Linked DNA regions of Homo sapiens: region 2 is linked to region 1. Evidence: promoter capture Hi-C in 16 types of primary human blood cells and fetal thymus (Javierre and others, 2016). All regions are on one chromosome and are shown on one strand. The core of a region is centred on a gene start or on the middle of the fragment in contact, and the rest is flanking DNA. Distances in the headings are between cores, read along the strand shown.

Region 1 (5,323 bases), core at 2,012-4,511:
CAGGGCGCGGCCACGCTGGAAGGCAGGCAGGAAGGCCTCCAGGCTTTGCTCCCCGAGCAGCAGCTGCTCCATCTGCTCCTGGGCCGGGAGGGAAGGGAAGGCTTGGGAGAGGCACGACCACAGACTGGGGACTGGTCCTCACTCCTTCCCACCCTGAGGCCCTCCCCATGGTGATCACCCCTCAGCTGGGGGACAGGGGACCTGCGTTCCAGCCTGGGCCTGCCTCCGATTACTTGCTAAGTGAACTGTGGACAAATGTCCTCCCACTTTTTTTTTTTTTTCCTGAGACAGAGTCTCACTGTGGTCCAGGCTGGAGTGCAGTGGCGCAATCTCGGCTCACTGCAACCTCCACCTCCCGGGTTCAAGCAATTCTCCTGCCTCAGCCTCCCAAGTAGCTGAGATGACAGACATGCACCACCACGCCCGGCTAATTTTTTTTTGTATTTTGTAGAGACGGGGTTTCACCATGTTGGTCAGGCTGGTCTCGAACTCCTGACCTCAGGCGATCCGCCCGCCTCGGTCTCCCAAAGTGCTGGGATTACAGGCGTGAGCCACTGTGCCCAGCCCTAACTTCTAAAATAAGGATGCCATCACCAGACCTGCTGGATCAGAGATGAGGCAGGAGCAGAGGCAGGGACATATGTGAAGTATAGACTTAACATGTCCTTCGGGAGCCCACCACCTTCAGCTCACTGATCGCTGCACTCCCAACCCAGCACAAAGTCTGCCCCAGCTCCTCTGTAGCCCCAGATCCACGCTGCCCTAGCCCAGTCACAGGGGAGCCCGAAAAAAATTCACAGGTAGGAAAGTGAGCCCTGCTGGCTGTCCAGTGCTGGTGGACAGCAATGCTAGGCTCTGGCATGCGCCAGGCATTCAGGGTGGACTTCCCAGAGGAGGGGCTCCCCAGCCTGAGGTGTAAGAATGAGCCAGGGGGTGGCAGAGAATGGGTCTCCCTCCTGGCCCCCAGCCCCAGCCACCCCTCCCCTCACCTCTGCCTCCTGCTCCGCCTCTTCTAGCTCAGCCTGCAGCCAGCCCAGCGCGCAGTGGGGACTCCAGCGATGCATGCTTTCCTCTGAGGGCCACAGAGGGACAGAGTGACAGACAGGCCAGGGCCCCGGGCTTGCACTCTCCCGCTGACCCCATGTGATTCTATATTTCCCTTTCCCCTGGTCTAGAGCCTCAGTTTCCTCATCTGTACCGTGCCCATGTGACCGCTTTGTGGATCCGGCCCCTACCAAGTTTCTGCTCCTCGTCCTAGTACAAAAGAGACAGGGGAGGCTTTGTCCCCCTCAGCATCTCAGGGGGACCCTGCGTATTGGGTCCCCTTTCTCCCACCCAACCCTCCCCACTTCCTCTCACTTCCTCAACTCTACTGCCCAGCAAGCCAGGAGCAGGTCCGCCCAACTCCCATCCATCAGAGCCTGGCACTTCCCAAGGCCAACCCACCGGATGGCCAACTGCCCCCACCAGCCCCAGGGGGTTCTCCCAGACGTGCCCTCACCCAGTCGCTGCAGCTTGTCCGCGCAGTTCTCGGCCACCTCACGAAGCTCCTGGTATTTGATGGCCAGGGCAGCCCGGCCCATCTCCAGGCGGGGCCGCAGGGCCAGGTTCTCCTTGGCCAGCGCGTAGTTGGAGGCCAGGCAGGCCTCACGCTCCAGCTGCAGGCCCTGGAACTGCGGGCAGAGAGGAGCTAAGAGGCCCGCTCAGGGGATCTGCCCTGTCCACCCTACTGCCCCGTCCACCCTACTGGGCGACCGTGCCTGAGGGCCAGGCCAAAGGCACCTGTCAGGCACCCCTTCAGGGTGGTGAACCCAACAGGTGAAGGGACGATGACAGGCCGGGACCAGAACTGGCTCTGCCCTGAGCTCCCTCTCTGGCCTCAGTTTCCTCTTTTACAAATCGAGTTAAAAAACATCCACCTTATGGGGTTGTTGAGAGACTTAAGTGAGGAAAACTATAAAGGCCTCTACAAATGTTAGTTAATTTTTAATTTTTCAATTAATATGTCTGCTCAGGTCCCGGAGGAGTGCCCCTCCCTCCTCTGCCCCATTTTCCATGCATGGACAGCTTCCCTCTCACTCCAGGCCTTTGTCTGTTTCCTCCTCAGGTGTTTGCACCGAAAACACTCCCACCCCCTGCTCATCCTCTCCAGAGGGGTGTCTGCACCCCGTCCCCTCACAGCACCCCCTCGGGTCACCCTCTCTTCCCTTCCCACCCCTTCCTCTGCCTCCAGTGGAATCCTCACACCCCAAGGAATACACACCCCCTTTTCCTCCCTGCTCCGGGCTTACAGCAGCCCCGGCCCTGGAGAAGGCTTTTTCCTTGTCTCTAGCAGGGCCCAACCTCCCCTCCCTGCCCCTGGAGAACGCACTCCCCTCCATCTGTCCCTTGTGGGATGCACAAGCCCCTCCTCGCCTGCCTGCTTTCAACACACACTTGCCCTTTCTGCCCCCCACAGACAACCAGCCCGGGCCTATCTCCCGTGAAATATACAACTTTCTCTTACGGTGGCCTATGCAATACACACGGCAGCTTCCAGCACCCCTCCCCAACGCCAGGCACAAAGCCCCCTCTTGCGCCCCCAGAATGCGTGAACCCCCAACGGCCCCTCCAGGTGTCAGACAGGCCCCTAGTTCTCCCAGTGGAAGGCGCCTCCTCTTTCTGGCCCTTACAGAACGTGGGTGTGCGAGCCAGGGCCCCCCACAACACAGCCCCCCGGAACACACCTCCCCGGAGCATCCGCTGTAGGACACGCCTCGCGGCCATCCTGGGGGTGCACAGGCGCCCCCCTCGGGTCCCCGGCGCCCCACCCGCCCCAGGCCAGCTCCAAGCGCCCCCTCCCCCGGGGGTGGCTCCGCGGGGCCCACTCGTACGTGCCAGGCTCCGCGCCCACGGGCGGCCCCGCGGCCCGGCCCGCGCGGCCCTTCCCTCGAGCGGCAGGTCCCGCAGGCCGCTGCCCGTCCCCCGCGCCCCCCGCTCGAGCCCCCCGCGCTACCTTCCTGCTGAGCCGCACGATCCGGTCCAGCTTGGGCTCATCCTGAAGCAGGTCCCGGAGCTGCCCGGTGCTGAGGATCCCAAAGCGCCCCGGGCTGCCGGGCTCCGGCCCCGCCCGCGCCGCCCGGGCCCGGTACATGCCGCCCGCCCGCGCCCCCAGCTCGGCTGCTGGCTCGGCCCGCTCGGCCCGCTCCGCCCCGGCTCCGCTCCGCTCCGCTCCGCTCCGGCTCCAGGATCCGCTCCGGCTCCGGCCGCACGCACCGCTCCGCCGCCAGGGGGCGCCCCTCCCGCTCTTAAAGGAGCCGCGGCGCCGGGGCTGGGGGTGGGGCAGGGAGGAGGCGGGCCGCACCCCTCCCCGCCCCGGCCGCGCCGCGCCGCCTCCAGCACCCCAGGATCGCCCAGCAACCCGATCTCCCCGCCCCTCCCGGAATCTGAGCCGCCCTGCTCTGCGCCCCAGCACCGGCCCTGGCTCACCACGCCCCCAGGCACGGACTCTCCCACCCCGGGCGGTTACAATTTGCAGAGCCCGTGCACGTTTTCCCCTCGGATGGCAACAACAAATTTCTGACTTTGGCCGGGCGCCGAGGGCTCCTGCCTTGCAGCCCTCCCCAAGCCTCAGTTTTCTCTTCTGTAAAATGGGGTTGGAGATGGTGAGCGCTGACTTGCTGGCCGGGCGCGGTGGCTCTCTCCTGTAATTCCAGCGATTTGGGAGACCGAGAAGGGAGGATCGCTTGAGGCCAGGAGTTTGAGACCAGCCTGGGCAACATAACAAGACCCCCGTCTCTATTTAAAAAAATTTAAAAATTGTCAAAAGGGTGAAAAGAGGCCGGGCGCGGTGGCTCACGCCTGTAATCCCAGCACTTTGGGAGGCCGAGGCGGGCGGATCACGAGGTCAGGAGATCGAGACCATCCTGGCTAACATGGTGAAACCCCGTCTCTACTAAAAATACAAAAAAAATTAGCCGGGCGTGGTGGCGGGCGCCTGTAGTCCCAGCTACTCGCGAGGCTGAGGCAGGAGAATGGCGTGAACCCGGGAGGCGGAGCTTGCAGTGAGCGGAGATCGCGCCACTGCACTCCAGGCTGGGTGACAGAGCGAGACTCCGTCTCAAAAAAAAAAAAAAAAAGAGTGAAAAGAACAATTTTTAAAAGTATTTAAATGCTTTTAAAAAGTATCCGGACATGGTGGCATGCGTCTGTAGTCCTAGCTACTCAGGAGGCAGAGGTGGGAGATTGCTTGAGCTCAGTTTTGAGACCAGCCTGGGCAACACAGCAAGACCCCATCTCTATAAAAGTAAAATTAAAATGCTGAGGGATAGTGATATGGCTAGCAATGTTATAATGAATACACATAGTAGGTCAATACCCACTTGTTATTTTAGACATGCAGAAGCATCACAGAGGCCGGGCACGGTAGCCCATGCCTGTAATCCCAGCACTTTGGGAGTCCAAGGTGGGTGAATCATTTGAGGTCAGAAGTTTGAGACCAACCTGACCAACAAAAATTAGCCGGGCGTGGTGGTGGGCGCCTGTAATTCCAGCTACTCAGGTGGCTGAGGCAGGAGAATCGCTTGAACCTGGGAGGCGGAGGTTGTAGTGAGCCGAGATAGCACCACTCCACTCCAGCCTGGGCGACAGAGACTCCGTGCTCCGTCTCAAACAAAGAAAAAAAAGAAAAAAAAGAGATGATGTCGCCTCCCCAAAGTCACATTACAGGTAAATGATACAGTCCCGTTTCTTCTCATTTGTACAGTGTCCACAGAGCATACGATGCCGCTCTGCGCTGAACACTGGGTTAGGCCCTGTGGGGACACTGTCCCTGCCCTCAGGGAGTTCATGGATTAAGGCAGAGTCCCATTCCCACTCAACTAATTCTAGTATAAGACAAATGGCAGGTGTCACCTCATGATGGCTTTGTGATTCCCATGTGATCCCCGATATGTCCTGTACCTTGTCTTTACAAATAGGTTAAGCCATTGTCCCCATCTCAGGAAATAGACACTCAGAAATTAAGTCAGACAATGAGTGACCCAGCCTGGGCAACACAATGAGACCCCCATCTCTGCCAAACATAAAAAATAAAGTAGCCGGCCGTGGTGGTTCGTGCCTGTAGCCCCAGCTGCTCAGGAGGCTGAGGTGGGAGGATCACTTGAGCCCAGGAGGTTGAGGCTGCAGTGACCTATGATTTTGCCACTGTACTCCAGCCTGGGAAATGGAGCAAGACCCCGTCTCAAAAAACAACAACGACAACTGAGCTTGTTCCACCTTAATACACTGCTACAAAAGTACAAAGAGCAATTAGGAAGGCTTACCAGAGGAGGTGGCATTTGAG
Region 2 (5,323 bases), core at 1,235-3,734, 52 kb before region 1:
TAATATGCGTCTCAATGAGTGATGCTTGGTGTGACACCAGGGCTCTCAGAGGGCAGGAGCTGAGCCTCCCTTTCCTGCCCTCTCCCTAAGGGGCCAGACACTGGGCTCTGGGGGCATACCTGTGACCCACCCCACTGACTCACCCTGCAGGCTAGACCAGGAGTCAGGCAGACTCCCCTGTCACTTGTCATCTCTGGGCAAGTTCCTCTAGCACTTACCTCCTTACTTTTCCTCTGTGAAGTGGGGCGCCATCAATGCCCATTCTGCAGGGCACCCAAAGTTGAAGCCGGGACAACTGGAACAGGGTGTGGCTGTTCCCTCTGCCAGGCCACATCGGACCGTCTTGGGCCAGATTTTCCAGGGAAGAAGGGAAAGCTGGAACAGTGTCCCTAGCTTGCCTGGCAGCCAGCTAACCTGTGCCCATAGTCTGGGAGAGGTGCCAGGCCCAGACACACTGGGCAGCAGGGGGCTGGATTGGCTCCAGAGCTCCAATGCTTTGGCAGTCCTGGGGAAGGGAAGGGATGTGCTTGGCTTCAGGTCAAGAGGGTGTGGGCCACAGAAGTGACAGCTGGGGGTGGTGGAGGGCACAGCGGGCTTATGGGGGTGTGTGCGAGACCACTGTTGCAACAAGATGCTGGCAGGGACCTTCAAAAGAACATCTGCTGTTGACTGGCCTCCCCACTCCCACTCCTCCACAGGTTTTCCCATGAGTCCTAGAGGAAGCCAGGCCCCAGGCTTCTAGATAGAAAATAGAACCTACATTGGCCAAGTGTAATCCCAGTGCTTTGGAAGCCCAAGCCAGGAGGATCGCTTGAGGCTAGGACTTTGAGACCAGCCTGGGCAACATGAGGAGACCCCGTCTTTACAAAAACGAAAAAAGAGAAAATAGAACCTCAGGCCTAGAGCCAGAGTTCAGGATTGGGGATGCAGGGAAAGGAGGAGAGGGGGGCCATAACTCAAATCTCTTTCCCAAAGATAGAGTAGTTCCTGGCTGGGTGCAGTGGCTCACACCTGTAATCCCAGCACTTTGGGAGGCTGAGGCAGGCAGATCACTTGAGGTCAGGAGTTCGAAACCAGCCTGGACAACATGGTGAAACCCCTTCTCTACTAAAAATACAAAAAAATTAGCCAGGCGTGGTTGTGGGTGCCTGTAATCTCAAGCTACTTGGGAGGCTGAGGCAGGAGAATTGCTTGAACTCGGGAGGTGGAGGTTGCAGTGAGCCAAGATCGTGCTACTGCACTCCAGACTGGGCAACAGAGTGAGACTCCGTCTCAAAAAAAAAAAAAAAAAATAGGCCGGGCACGGTGGCTCACGCCTATAAGCCCAGCACTTTGGGAGGCCGAGGCGGGAGAATCAAGAGGTCAAGAGTTTGAGACCAGCCTGCTCAACATGGTGAAACCCTGTCTCTACTAAAAAATACAAAAAATTAGCCGGGCGTGGTGGTGGGCACCTGTAATCCCAGCTACTTGGGAGGATGAGGCAGGAGACTCGCTTGAACCCAGGAGGCAGAGCTGAGATAGCGCCACTGCACTCCAGCCTGGGCGACAAGAGTGAAACTCCATCTCATAAATAAATAATCAAACAAACAAACAAACATAAAAAGATAGAGGAGTTCCTTCATCCTGCAGGAAAAAGGGGTGGGTCACGCAGCATCAGAGCTGTGAACTGAGAAATCCTAGGGAAAGAAGAGGCCAGTGCCTGAGTCCCTACTGGATGATGGGAGCAAGGGGGAAGGGTGGAGGCTCCCAGACTGGAACTCTCCAGGAGGTTTTTGGCTGGGGAACAGAAGGGAGAGCAGGAGGTCCCAAGGTAATGAAATGAAGGAGGGAGTTACAACCTTCAGCAAATTCTGGGGAAGTGAAGGGATCTGAGGATGAGGACCGGATTCTGGGACAGGGATGCTGAGCTGCTAAGTCGGGAAGAGGCTGGAAGCCAGGCACGGTGGCTCACGCCTGTAATCGCAGAGCTTTGGGAGGAGGGAGGATCGCTTGAGGACAGGAGTTCAAGACCAGCCTGAGTAACATAGCAAGACCCTGTCTCTACAAAATATTTGAAAATTATTCAGGAGTAGTGGCGAGCAACTCTAGTCCCAGCCACCCAGGAGACTGAGGCGGGAGGATTGCCTGAGCTCAGGAGCTCAAGGCTGCAGTGAGCTATGATTGCACCACAGCACTCCAGCCTGGGCGACAGAGCGAGACCCTGTCTCCAAAAATAATAAATAAAAAACGAGACAGGGCTGGGGCAGAGGAGGCAGCAGGGTCTCTGGGGACCCATCCCCGGGAGCGATCACGCGTGCGGAACGTCCAGGACGAGACCCCAGGGCTTCGATCCCCACGGGGCTGCTCGTGCGGGGTGGGGCGGGGTCTGGGCGGGGTCTGGGCGGGGCCCGGGCGGGGTGGGGCGGGGCCGGGGTCCCGGGGGCCGGGGCGGGGCCGGGCTGGCGCTGCGCAGCCGCGGGGCGGCCGTCGCGCATGCGGGGCTCACACGGCTGCAGCCGGCGCCGCTGCCACTCCCGGGAGCATGAAGGACCGAACCCAGGAGCTCCGCACGGTGAGTCCGGCCCCAGCGCGCGGCCGCCCGCCGCCCGCCGCCAGCGCCAACGCGCCGGACACTTCCCGCCCGGCTCCCGCGGCCAGGATGGTGGCCGCTCCTGCGCCCCCAGCCAGGGCTGAAGGGAGCGGGGCGAGCCAGGGACCTCGACCCCCCTCCGGGTTCCGCCCCTCGGACCCACTCGGGGTCAGGCTCGCGTGAGCTCGGCCGCGCTGACACGTGGACGGTCGGCTGGAGTCCGGGGTCCTGGATAAACTTTTCGGGGCCCTCTTGATTTGGGGGGTTCGGAGGGTATGATGGGGTTTTGGTGGCGGGACCTCTTCCCCCTCCCGCAGAGCAGGCCCTTTCTCTGGCCCCCTCACTGCCCCTCATCTCTGACCTCCCGTGCCCCCTCGGTGTAGACAGACGAGGGGACCGCGGTGGGAACCTCCTTGGTGTAGACAGACGAGGGGACCGCGGTGGGCCGGTGCCGGTCCCCTGCGCGGGGCCCCGCTGCGGGGCGCGCTGCGGAAACCTGATCGTCGGGTGGTGGCGGCCTCCTCGGGCCACCCTGGTCACCTGTGGCTCCCATCACCTGTGGCTCCCCCTCTGCTTGGTCGCAGTAGGGATCCACTGCCCGCCCCAGGTATGGGGGGGGGGGCGTCACACCCGCCCCCGGTCCACCTATCCACCTTCGGGCTTTCGGGCAGCACTGGCTGGCGTTTCCAGACCCTTCAGGGTTCCTTGCGACTTGGATCTATTTTTCTACCTGTATCTGGGAAACCCCTGGGGTGTGGCTCCTGGGGCGGGGTTTGGGGGGAGTAGGAGGATGCACAAACGTTCTGAGTCAGAGCCCACCTTCTCCCAGCCCAGAGACCCCTGCAGCCTGCGTGGGTCCCCTTCCCCTGGCCTCTGCCCTTAGGGATGAGGAGCCCAGGAGGATGGTGACCGGGAGTGGAGGACAGCGACGGAAATGAAGCCTCTCTGGGTGTGTCGGGGAGGGGGGGTGGATCAAGGCTCAAGACTAGATTGAGTCTCATCTGGTCATCTGGTCCCCTGGCTGGCCACCTGGCTGGCAGCCCTGCCTGCTGATCCCTGGGAGCACCCCCCACCCCGCTCCCTGGGCTAGGAACTAGAACCCTAAGGTCCCCTCCTATGGAAAATGTCAAGTGTCCTTTGGGCATTTGACCCCACGGCTTGTCTTCTCCACCCAGAGGCTCCCTGAGTTGGAGCCTGTCTGCCCCATTATGTCATGGTTGCCTCCTGGGCATCCTGGAGCCGGGACCTGGGCTCCCCTGCCTTCATGTCCCCCACTTGCTCTGGCACCACGGCCTCCACTTTGCCTCCAGACCTGTTATTCCTGGCCGAGCGCCCAGCCCCTGGTGTAAACCCCATGAGGTTTCAAAGGAAGAAGATGGTCCCTCAAGTCGCATATGGGCTCTAAACACTTCCCCCGCGGCCCCTGTGGTTGCCCTCAAGTTTCCTGAGCTCCGTTGAGTCAGAATGAGTGTTTTCCTGGTGACGGATGGCTGTGTGGTGTAATGTGCTGATGTTTAGGCGCCTGGTAGGTTACCTGAGGGTGTGTGTGGGAACCAAGTGGTCAGGGGAACCATGGGCCCCTACATAGGATAATAGCCTCTGGCATGTCAGCCTTCATCCCCCTAGCTGAAGGGGAAACTGAGGCACAAAAGAAACACGGCTTGCCTGCTAGAGGGAGGGGTGGTAGAAAAGGGCTTTGCCTCATCCCTGAAGATAGTCAGACTCAGGCCTGGCTGACACTGGGGGACAGCCAGTGGAGCTGGGGTTGTGAAGCGTTTGAACCCAGATCTTTTTGCTCTGATGTCTGTCTCTGTTACTACCTCCTCGCCCCCTGATTAGATGGTGAAGCCAGGCTTTGCTTTGAATGGTCTGAGGCTTCCGCTCCAGACACCCCCACCCTCCCCACACAAGGCATTCAGAGCCCAGGGAGGCTGTACCCATTGCTGGGTGGCCCTGCCCAGGGAGGGCTTTCTAGCAGACAGGTGGACGGCTGGCAGGCAGGAGCCCACCCGGGGTGGGGTGAGACAGTCAGTCTTGGTGGGGCCACTGTTCCCACAGGCTGCTTTCCCTCTGGACCTAGGGTTCCCATCTGTGAAGTGGGGATGGGAAAGCCTAGAATTCAGTTTCTCGGGACGAGAAGCAGGGCTACAGGTCTCCTGACTCCAGCTCCACATTTGTAGGAGGCCTGAAGCCCCAGGAGTCAGAATTTTCAGCCCAGAATCCCCAGAAAGGAAGAGGCCAGCACTGGCTGAGCTGGACTGGGCTGGACTGGGCTGGACTGGGGCGGGCTGGGCTGGGCTGGGCTGAACAGAGATGGTGCTGGGGACAGCGGCTGTGCACCGCTCCCAGCCCTCCCTCCCTCCCTCTTCCTCCTCCTCCTCCCTCTTCTTTCTCCTTCTCCCCCACCCAACACCACCACATTTGGAAGGAGGCGAAGAGAGCTTATTTATAAAAGTCACACTTGGGGAAGGAGCTGGCGCGTTTCCTCACTCTGCAGGCCCGGCCCAGCCCTCCAGCCTTCTCCAGCCTTCTCCAGCTCCCAACTCTCCCTCTGCAGATGGGGAGTGAAGGGGGTCACTGGGGACTAGCCAGGGGGCCTCAATGCTGTCGCAGTCCCTCAGAGATCAGAAAGGCCACTTGCAGGTTACAGGTAACAAAGAGAGACCGAAGACAGGGCCAGGGTCACACAGCCAGGGAAAGACTTTTAGGTTAGAGCATCCCCAGGAGCCCCACTCAGGCTGTAGCTGCCTCCTC

What was found. The method cuts DNA at HindIII sites, captures the fragments that hold promoters and counts their contacts. A CHiCAGO score of 5 or more calls a contact.
Region 2: the fragment with the promoter of STX1A here is called in contact with the fragment with the promoter of VPS37D in region 1 in 17 of 17 cell types (erythroblasts, naive CD8 T cells, endothelial precursors and 14 more); the score reaches 15.1 in erythroblasts.

What each region holds. Positions count from the first base shown.
Region 1 is chr7:73,665,769-73,671,091 of GRCh38, reverse strand. It overlaps VPS37D (VPS37D subunit of ESCRT-I), which reads right to left and starts at 3,261. Exons shown (of 4, transcript NM_001077621.2): 1 at 2,996-3,261; 2 at 1,502-1,673; 3 at 990-1,072; 4 at 1-78. The coding sequence starts at 3,133. RefSeq lists an enhancer at 2,104-3,099 and silencers at 3,081-3,380, 3,491-3,590, 3,601-3,650. The HindIII fragment of the contact is 11,431 bases long and covers 1-5,323 here.
Region 2 is chr7:73,716,830-73,722,152 of GRCh38, reverse strand. It overlaps STX1A (syntaxin 1A), which reads left to right and starts at 2,484. Exons shown (of 10, transcript NM_004603.4): 1 at 2,484-2,551. The coding sequence starts at 2,522. RefSeq lists silencers at 2,369-2,568, 2,629-2,828, 2,839-2,898, 3,009-3,088. The HindIII fragment of the contact is 14,118 bases long and covers 1-5,323 here.